Linked DNA regions of Homo sapiens: all the other regions are linked to region 1. The links are contacts of gene promoters, found by promoter capture Hi-C in blood cells and fetal thymus (Javierre and others, 2016). All regions are on one chromosome and are shown on one strand. Each heading gives the region's core, a stretch centred on a gene start or on the middle of the fragment in contact. The rest is flanking DNA. Distances are from core to core; before and after follow the strand shown.

Region 1 (3,644 bases), core at 109-2,608:
CCCGCCTCAGCCTCCCAAAATGTTAGGATTACAGGTGTGATCCACCACACCAGGCCACGTCAGGTTTTTGTTGTTGCTTTTAAGTAGAGATGGGTTTTTGCCATGTTGGCCAGGCTGGTCTTAATAGAACTCATGGCCTCAAGTGATCCACCAGCCTTGGCGTCACAAAGCACTGGGATTGCAGGCAAGAGCCACTGCACCTTGCTCAGGTTTTCAAAAATATGTTTTGTAGTTTTTATTTATTTATTTATTTATTTATTTTTTTGAGACAGGGTCTCCTTCTATCACTCTGGCTGGAATGCAGTGGTGCCATCCTGGTTTCCTGCAGCCTCCACGTCCTGGACTCAAAGAGATCCTCCCACCCCAGCCTCCTGAGTAGCTGGGACTACAGGCATGGGCCACCATGCCCAGCTAATTTTTTTAAAACTTTTTGTAGTGACAGGGTCTCACTATGTTGCCCAGGCTGTTCTCGAACTCCTGGCCTCAAGCAATTCTCCCACCTTGGCCTCCCAAAGTGCTGGGATTACAGGTGTGAGCCACTGTATCTTGCCTCAATAAATATTTTTTAATGAATTAATCAGCAAGTAATCTCCTCTATTTACTGTGACTCTGAGTTATGTTCAAGAGCAAGCAGTTCTTGACTTCCTTTTCTTTGTAATGATTTAGTGCTTGAAATTACTTCTACCTTTCAGCATTTTAAAATTGGTTATTATTTTCTCATTTTCATCCCCACACTCACATCGAACATGATTTCCACTATTTAAAAGTGTAAGATTTTTGTTTCAGCCTGGGATTTATCCTATTGCAAACTGCTAGCTACTATTTTCAACCTCTGTCAGCTAAATGCCAGAATGTCACTAATCAAAGGTGGTACTTAGGGGTGAAGTGAACAGTTAAGCCTCCAATTTACAAGCTTGTTTTTCCCTGGGATACTTGTGTGAAAGTCGTATGTTCCTGGGTGTGACCCTTTCGAGACAAAATCTCAACTGGTGAGTTAATTATGTATAACTATAATTAAATCAAAGATGTAGGATAACGGAGGCGTTGAAATAGTTTTTGCTAGGCAAGGGTGTGACCTTTTTAAAAAATGTATGATATATGCTGCCATTCGAGAGGCAAGGAAAACATATCTCCAAATTTCCTTCCAAGCGGTCTACCGGCATTGACAGTACCGCGGACAAAGGAGAGTACCAAATAAATACTCCTTCGAACCAACGGTATACTGAGAGCCCTGAGCTTGTGGGCGGGGCCCCGGAGCCTCCCGGGACCTAAAGGCAGAGGGGGCGTGGCTGAGGGTGGTCCAGACCTCCAGGGGCGGGGCTGAGACCTGCGAGAGGCAGGCTGGGAAGCGGCGCCATATTGGCGTCGGCCGCGCTGTATTGTCATAAATAGAGCCGGTTTTGTGGTGTTTTCACTACTCGGTTGGATGCCTCAGCCATAGTAAGTGGGAAAGTGAGCGAGCAAGCGAGCTACTAGCGACCGGAGGAAAGTGAACAGGGGGAGAAGGGAACAGCAAGAACAGGACTCCAGAGCGATAAACACTCGCTGGAGAGGGAGACGCAGGAAGCGATGAAAGAGATGTCTGCGTAAGTGGTGGGGGGCGGCGGTTGGGGTGAGGCGGGTAGGGGTGAGCTGAGGTGGTCCGACTGTGTCCTTGTTTCCGTTCCCTGTCCCTTGCGCCCTGCACGCAGCTCGCCGGGATGGTCTCCTTCCCGGCTCCCGGCCGGTCCGCAAGGGCACCTCCCCTAAACCCGGCGGCTCACCTGGCCACCCCTGCACGGACTCGGGGACTCCGGGAGTCCCCAGCTGTCCCGCCTCCGAGGACGCCCTCAGAAAAGGATGAGGAGGGAAAGAGGTGCCTGTGTCCGTAGGGAGAAATTGTCGGTCACTCGCCTGCCCCCAGCACTGTCTGAGCCCGTCTGCTCCTGTCTGCATTGGCGCAAATACCATCCCCCTGCCTCCCCCTCCTCCCTTCCCGACCGGCTGTCTCCAGGTCTTCAGGAGTGAAAGACCTATCGCAGCCCAAGGGTTTCTCTTTCATATGAGGCTACAGTCTTTTCACCGCCGTCCCCACCCTCTCCCTCACCCCCTGCTTCCCCACCTACCCACAACATCTACCGGTCTGTACCTCTTGTTCACACTTTGATAAGTCAGAAACAGTTCCCGTACTTGGCAAGATTTTGTTGTAGCTTCTTCCATTTTGGTCTATTAGGAAATAATTTAAACATGCAGAAAAATGTAGAGAATAACATAAGCATCATTTGTGGAGCCACCACCCATTTCTCCCAAAACGTAACTGTACACACATACACGTACATGCACACACGCACACACACGGTGTGTATATACGTATCTGTGTATTTATTTTAAAAAGAAATCAAGCATTCCAGATACATCTGAAGGACTCTCCTACCTCCTTCTCTGGTCCCAATCATCTCTTGCTCCAGATGTCTCCACAGTCTTGAATTTGATGTTTATCGTTGCTGCCTGTTTTTTATTTTACTTCTTTTTTTTCCGCCCTCGAATCATGGGAGCTGCATGTTTTTTAATGCTATTACTACATACACATGTGTTCATAATAACTGGCATAGTTCTAGTTGTTTTTAAACTTTATATAACTCGTATCACACTTGGAATTCTGTAACTTCTTTAGCACAACATAGTATCTCTGAGCTTTGTTCATGTTAGTATTTTAGTTGTAATTAATTAATATTAATTATTGTATTGTATTCTATTGTAGGAAAACACCCTAATTTAATTCTTTTCCTGTTAGTGACTATTTTATTTCTAAGTTTTTAATGTTACAATGTGACAGTGAACGTTCTTTTAGGTGTCTCTTTGTACGCTTGTAACTAGAATTTCTCTAGGTTGTTTGCCTGTAAGTGAAATTGATGGTTTGAAGGGAATGTGGGATTCTGTTGTTTACTTTCCCCTCCCCTCTAGATGGGGGAAGTTCAGAACCTGGATTTGGAATTTTAGGGCCAGTAGGCTAGTTGGCCAACTTTGTCAGCATACAGGTAAAAAAGTGAGGCCCGTCATCATGGTGTCAGAGCTGAAGTAGTTAGAGAGGAGAGAATGGAGTAGTGGAAAGAGGTTTTGGAGTTCAGATTCTGGCTTGTCCTCTCTTTGACTTTCAGGTACTTATCTGTAAAATGGCACTTATTCAATACCCCTTAGGATTATTGCGATTGAGTGATACTATATAGATATGTAGATAATTACTCTGTCCTATTCACTTACCGTATATATTTACATATGTATTACACAAACAATACCAAAACACTGCTCTAGCTTTCTCAGAGGTAAAAAGCCAAATCTTTAAAAAGAAATTACCACTTGAAATAACTAATTGAAGTTTTGTTTGTTCTACAACAAAATAAATACAGAAGATAAATTAACCAGTATTTTGGTTTCTGGGGTTTTTTTTTTTTTTTTTTTTTTTGAGTCATTTTGGAAGGTATACAGGCTATTTTATCTTCCATTTGATTCTTTCTCCCTCTCTGCCTAATGAGATTTTTTTTTTTTTTTTTTTTTTGAGACGGAGTTTCGCTCTTGTTGCCCAGGCTGGAGTGTGGTGGCGCGATCTTGGTTCACTGCAACCTTCGTCTCCTGGGTTCAAGCGAATCTCCTGCCTCAGCCTCCCG
Region 2 (3,540 bases), core at 197-2,696, 290 kb after region 1:
GAAATTTCCATATTTCAAAATCCATTTAACTATGCAATTGAGGAACTTCCACTTAATCTTCATTTGGAAGTGATTAATCTGCAATGTAATAACATGGTAAAAGGCAAATATCAAGAGAAGAATTTAACAGAATTATATTCTGGCCTATTACTCTCCCAACTAATAAATATGCTCAATTAAAACCACATACTCATAGACTCATATTAGGATTTGACATTACCTATCTGTGTGAAAAGGCATTTTCAAAAATGCAGTACCTCAAATTTTATTACAAATTAGAATTAGCAAGTGAATATTTATAATTGATTTCCAATTAAGTGAAATATCCTTCCCCCAAAATATTTCATTCTTCTAAGTAACTTCCAAATAGACCTGTATTACCAAAAAGAAACATGGTTATTATATTTTTAATCTTGTCAATAAATTTATGGAAATTTTGTTTCCTCTTTTTATAAAAGTAATTGCCCAATATCCTGTTTTGCCTCTTGGCTTTCAAAGTCTAAAATATTAACTATCTGACCCTTTTCAGAAAAAATTTGCCAACCCCTGGCTCACGGTAAGAGAGCGGGAAGTTGGAGCTTAAAGAAAGGAAAAAGTTCATAATAGGTATCTTTAGTGGATCTATTGTTGATTTAACATAGTATTCATTATAGTTTTTACTTGGGAGGGGAGGACTTTTCTCTTGGCAAATTTATGCAGTTTGCAAGCCATAGCCAGTGAAATATCTGCATTTTTCTTTTGTAAATTTTATTAACCTAATTTTAATTTGGCTTATAGACAGCATCAACTGGGCAAGTGGTGAGGATGACCATGTAGTTGCCAGAGCAGAATATGATTTTGCTGCCGTATCTGAAGAAGAAATTTCTTTCCGGGCTGGTGATATGCTGAACTTAGCTCTCAAAGGTAATAAATTATGAATAAGTTGGAATTATCTGTAAATTTTGATATTCATAAATGCAGTATTAAAAACTACAACAAAGGATCTTGTTCATTGTTAGTTAACTTAGAGATAGTTACTAGAACTTCTTTTTCATGTCAATTTAGAGCTTCCAAATCTGGAGGAGTCAGGAAGAAATGCCCCAGCAGAGTTATTCGAATACTATTTCACTGAGATAAGGAAAGGCTTTGTTTATATAGGCTTTTCTAAACTCAAAATACTTGAATTTCAAACTGTTAATCCCCACACAAAAACGTGATGTCAGTAACTAAACATAACAAATCTAATAAAGCAAAGGAATTATGTAACATCATCTAAGCATTGCTGTTAGTCCTTGTGGACTGGTGTTGCTTCTTTATTACTTCAGCAGTGTTTACCTCAGAAATTTCATCATAAGTATTTTAGGAAATAGTGTCATGAAGTATTATAGAACCCCAGCAAGAGATTTATACGCATCTCGGGTTTATTTTTGGACCAAGTCACTGATACTTTTTAATGACTCTAGGCAAAATGACCTTTTCCTTCACCCTTCCTGAGTAATGATTATCAGGATTTTTATGGATTTTTTTAAATATGTGTATTTATGGGGATTCAAGTTTATTGCAAAAAGTGATGTTTTGTTGATAAAGGTACTAATAACAATAACATGTTATTTATTGAGTACTTACTATGTACAAGGTACTGTATTTTACATATTTCATTTAAGCCTTACAATAATACGGTGAAGTGGTACTATTATTATCCTGTCATTGTTTTACCCTTGAAGAAACTGAGACTCAGAATAAGTAAATTGTCCAGTATCACAAAGCAAAGGTGCAATAGAACTGGACTATGAATCTAGGTTTGTCTAACTTGAGACCTTGTGCTTTTAACAACTCTGGCTGTTTTTTCATGGAAGGATCTATTTATGGAAACTTCACCCTTTTTTTGGTTTTAGTCATTTTTTGCAGGGAAGAAATACTTTCAATGTTCAAATCATTACTATGTAAATAATTGAAAATTTTGGATGAGATTACTAAATCTTTGCCTCATCCCTTTTACAAAAAACCTAGACTTAAGCGAGGTGCAGTGTGTGCACCTATAGTCCCACCTACTCAAGGGGCTGAGGCAGAAGGATCACTTGAGGCCAGGAGTTTGAGGCTGTAGTACATTGTAATCACACCTGTGGAACAGCACCACTGCACTCCAGCCTGGGCAACGTAGTGTAACCTTGTCTCAAGAAAAAAAAAACAAACCTCTAGACTTTTAGGTATTCTATTTGTATTTTTCTTTCTTTTTTTTTTGTTTTGAGACAGAGTCTAGCTCTGTTGCTCAGGCTCGAGTGCAGTGGCACGATCTTGGCTCACTGCAACCTCCGCCTCCCGGGTTCAAGTGATTCTCCTGCCTCAGCCTCCTGAGTTGCTGGGACTACAGGCACATGCCACCACGACCAGCTAGTTTTTGTATTTTTAGTAGAGACAGGCGTTCACCATGTTGGTCAGGCTGGTCTCGAACTCCTGACCTTGTGATCCGCCCGACTTGGCCTCCCAAGGTGCTGGAATTACAGATGTGTACCACCACGCTGGGCCTATTCATATTTTTCTTATAGGGAAAATAGCAATTTACTATTTTGGATTTCAAACGAATGATTTTTTAAAGATTTGTTGTTAGAGACAGGAACAACACAGATAATTTTAATTAGAGGTCATGTGGTTTCTTTCAGTTACATAACACTTCAGAAAAATTTTATATTTCATTATTCTTCAATGAATAGTGCCTCTTAACACTAGCTTGCTTCTTGGCTTTCCTCCATTGCTCAAGAAAAGTATGTTTGGGCCTTTGGAACAAAATCGGTCGTAGACATGGTAAATTTGTTTTTTCCTGTTATTATAGAGCATTAAACATTAAAAAGTCTTATATTGTGCCTAAATTATAATGTTGAACTAAAATTGTAACAGTTAAGCAGCTTTTTAAAGATATAGATAAAATAGGAAAATACAATAGAAAATTGAGTACATTAAATAATCTTTCTTTAAGCTTAGAGTATTGCCTTTATTTATCATATGGCTAGAAATAACAAAGGTCTTCAATTTTTTGCCCATCTTGGATTGAAATTAATATTTACTGTCTTCAGGATTGTTTATTACAATCACATGAAACGAATTTTATATTTTTGCCAAAAGTAGGCTAAGAAAGCTGAGTGCATTAAAGGTATATCTTTTCTATACTTATTCCTAACTTACCCAGTTGAGAAGGAATAAGATATTCATTTTTTAGACTCCAGTTTAAAATATGAAAGACATTGATGTTAGTTTTCAGTTTTGAGAGAACTAAATCTCCCTACTCTATGAATGGACCAACTGATAATAAACTTTATGTTCTTCAAGGTGGAAGGAAATATTTAGTAAGTATAAAATAAAAATAGAAGAATGGACCCTAGAACTGTTAAGCCTACTCAGCATTTGATTTTGAATATATATGCATGTACTATTTGTTATCTACTATGTAAGCATAACAGATTTTCCTGAATGTGATATTTTACCATTACTATTCTGTTGGACCTCCAAAGTATATTGTAATTACAAGACTGTCTTTTTTTTCCATCAGAACAACAACCCAAAGTG
Region 3 (3,168 bases), core at 499-2,998, 340 kb after region 1:
TATTACCAAGACCTGATTGTATATTCTGTATCACTCAATTACTAAAAGATACTTGAAAATAGTGTAAAATACTAATACATTAATGAAATGTTATTAGTGATATAAAGTACTAATACATGAATGATTCTAATGTTTAGAATCACCAGTAACTAATAACAACTTGTCATATAACATATGCAATTAGAATAAAGCTTCCATTTAACATTTGCCTAATTCCCAACTCTTGGCCTGTTCAAACTATATTTAATTTGTAATCCTTTATCTAGCTTAGCAAAATTATTTGGTATTCAAATCATTCATACCTTTTCCTGTTGTCCACCAAATATACAAACCCTGCCTCTACTAAAAATACAAAATTAGCTGGGTGTGGTGGCACACGCCTATAATCCCAGCTACTTGGGAAGCCAAGGCAAGAGAATTGCTTGCATCCTGGAGGTGGTGGTTACAGTGAGCCAAGATCATGCCATTGCACTCCAGCCTGGGCAACAAGAGTGAAACTCCATCTCAAAGAAGATAATAATTAAATAAATAAATAAAACAAATTGTTTATATCACTTGCTTGTAAAATTGAGGCTCTTTCTCCAGAGATAAGACATGGGATGTTCATGAGTATTTGAATAGTCTTTTCGAAGAATTAAAATCTTGGAGAGATGTATACTGGCGATTGTGGGGAACAATCAATTGGCTGACTTGTTCAAGATGTTATCAGGTAAGATTTTTTTTTTTAAATATCCTGCTCTGCAAATATTGAGAGCAAGATTATTTTGATATCTGCTGTTTAATTGATATGTTTAAATGTGTTTTGACAATATCCAACATCTTTTTAAAGAAACTAGTGGCAGCTGGGCATGGTGGCTCGTGCCTGTAATCCCAGCACATTTAGAGACCAAGGCAGGTGGATCGTTTTAGCCCAGGAGTTCAATACCAGCCTGGGTGACATAGTGAGACTCCATCTCTTAAAAAAATGAAACTAGGCCCGGTATGGTGGCTCATGCCTCTAATTCCAGCACTTTGGGAGGCCGAGGTGGGCGGATCACGAGGTCAGGAAATCAAGACCATCCTATCTAACATGGTGAAACCCCATCTCTAGTAAAAATACGAAAAATTACCCGGTTGTGGTGGCACATGCCTGTAATCCCAGCTATTCGGGAGGCTGAGGCAGGAGAATCACTTGAACCCGGGAGGCAGAGATTGCAGAGAGCTGAGATCGTGCCACTGCACTCCAGCCTGGGTGACAGAGCAAGACTCCATCTCAAAAATAAAATAAAATAAAATATAAAAATAAAATAAAACTAGTGGCAAAAGCAATGGTGCTGTTAAACATTTTTTGCATCTGGTTTCATTTCTCTTGACATTGTTTCTTCTTTCTCTTTTTTTATTTCCATTCCTGAAACAATCAAAGACTTGTTGAATTTTTAGAAAAGCAACAGGTTTTGGCCAGGCACGGTGGCTCACGCCTGTAATCCCAGCACTTTGGGAGGTTGAGGCAGGTGGATCACCTGAGGTCAGGAATTCCAGACCAGCCTGACCAACATGGAGAAACCTCATCTCTACTAAAAACGCAAAATTAGCCAGGCGTGGTGGCGCATGCCTGTAATCCCAGCTACTCAGTGGGCTGAAGTGGGAGAATCACTTGAACCCGGGAGGCAGAGGTTGCGGTGAGCTGAGATTGCGCCATTGCACTCCAGTCTGGGAAAGGAGGGAAACTCTGTCTCAAAAGAGAAAAAAAAAAAAGTCACTTGTTTTAAGTGATCAAATCCAGTTTTTCAGTGAAAACAATTATTAAAAAATCCTTATTGCCTTCACTTGTTTCCAGCCAAACTATTTTCTCTGTTGTTCTATACACTTCTATAGAAATTCAGAAGCACCTTTGCAGATAGGATGCTATTGATATGTGCCTTTGTTGTTACAACAATTTTGTTCCCAAAAAGTTTTTGTTTTTTAATTAATGTTTATAATAAAAGCATAAGAAAACTTGCTACTTGTAGGAACCTATAATAAACCCTTTTGTGGAATAAATAGGTTTTTCTAAGTCACAGTCATTCCTAATTAATCTTATGTATAAATGCAGAGTTTTCGACAAATAATTTCTTTTGAATCCCTAAAGTTTTCCTCTCCCCAGTAATTTTCCTCTGTCACTTGCGTAATGATTTTCAATAGAGGGAAGGAAGAACAGCTTGTCAAAATCTTCAGATTGGGATTTTAAACTGTTTAAGTTCCCACTCAATGGGTTCTGTGTTCCCACAATTTTAAAAAGGTTTGTTGAAGTATTATATACAGTAAAATGCATCCTTTTTGTGAGTTTCGACAGTGCTTACAATTGTATAACTACCTCCGCAATCAAAGCATGTAACACTTCCATCACCCTAAAAGAAATTTCTTTGTGCCGCTCTTTAGTCAATTAATTCCCCCACCCTAGCCTCTGGTAACCACTGGTCTGTTTTCTCTATATATAGTTTTGCCTTTTCCAGAACGTCATATAAATAGGATCATATAGCATTTAGCTTTTTGAATCTAGCTTCCTTCACTTCGAATAATGGATGTAAAATCTATCCATGTTGTTTCATAAATTAGTTTGTTCTTTTTTATGGCTAAGTAGTAGTCTGTTGTATGACTATATCACAGTATGTTCAGACATTCACCAGTTGGAGGATGTTTGTGGTCTAGTGTGGAGCCATTATGAAGAAAGCTGCTATAAACAATACAGGTTTTCCTGTGAACATAGGTTTTTATTTCTCTTGGATGTATTTATTTCTCTTCTTTTTTTTTTTTTTTTTTTTTTGAGATGGAGTTTCACTCTTGTTGCCCAACCTGGAGTGCGCTGGCGCCATCTTGGCTCACTGCAACCTCCACCTCCCAGGTTCAAGCGATTCTCCTGTCTCAGCCTCCTGAGTAGCTGGGATTACTGGCATGCGCCACATCACCCGCCTAATTTTTTGTATTTTTAGTAGAAATGGGGTTTCACCAGGTTAGCCAGGCTGGTCTCAAACTCCTGACCTCAGGTGATCCGCCTGCCTTGGCCTCCCAAAGTGCTGGGATTATAGGCCTGAGCCACTGCGCCCGGCCTCTCTTCTTTCTTATTACCTAGGAGTAGGATTGCTGGTTTGTGTGGTAGTTTAACACTTGCCATGCCTAATAGTTTTCCAAAGTCCCGGAACCATTTTGCAT

The links. Contacts are between HindIII fragments. The CHiCAGO score rates a contact against its expected background, and 5 or more counts as called.
Region 2: a contact is called between a fragment that was not itself captured here and the fragment with the promoter of PAPOLG in region 1, in 1 of 17 cell types (activated CD4 T cells). The highest score is 5.4, in activated CD4 T cells.
Region 3: a contact is called between a fragment that was not itself captured here and the fragment with the promoter of PAPOLG in region 1, in 1 of 17 cell types (neutrophils). The highest score is 6.1, in neutrophils.

What each region holds. Positions count from the first base shown.
Region 1 is chr2:60,754,910-60,758,553 of GRCh38, forward strand. PAPOLG (poly(A) polymerase gamma) reads left to right here and starts at 1,359. Exons shown (of 22, transcript NM_022894.4): 1 at 1,359-1,586. The coding sequence starts at 1,570. RefSeq lists an enhancer at 1,275-1,584. The HindIII fragment of the contact is 3,911 bases long and covers 912-3,644 here.
Region 2 is chr2:61,044,949-61,048,488 of GRCh38, forward strand. PEX13 (peroxisomal biogenesis factor 13) reads left to right here. Exons shown (of 4, transcript NM_002618.4): 3 at 778-903; 4 at 3,524-3,540. Among named protein-coding and RNA genes, the nearest start is that of SANBR, 19 kb to the right of the region's middle. The HindIII fragment of the contact is 3,009 bases long and covers 1-2,951 here.
Region 3 is chr2:61,091,879-61,095,046 of GRCh38, forward strand. SANBR (SANT and BTB domain regulator of CSR) reads left to right here. Exons shown (of 22, transcript NM_001129993.3): 11 at 586-709. Among named protein-coding and RNA genes, the nearest start is that of SANBR, 28 kb to the left of the region's middle. The HindIII fragment of the contact is 3,119 bases long and covers 190-3,168 here.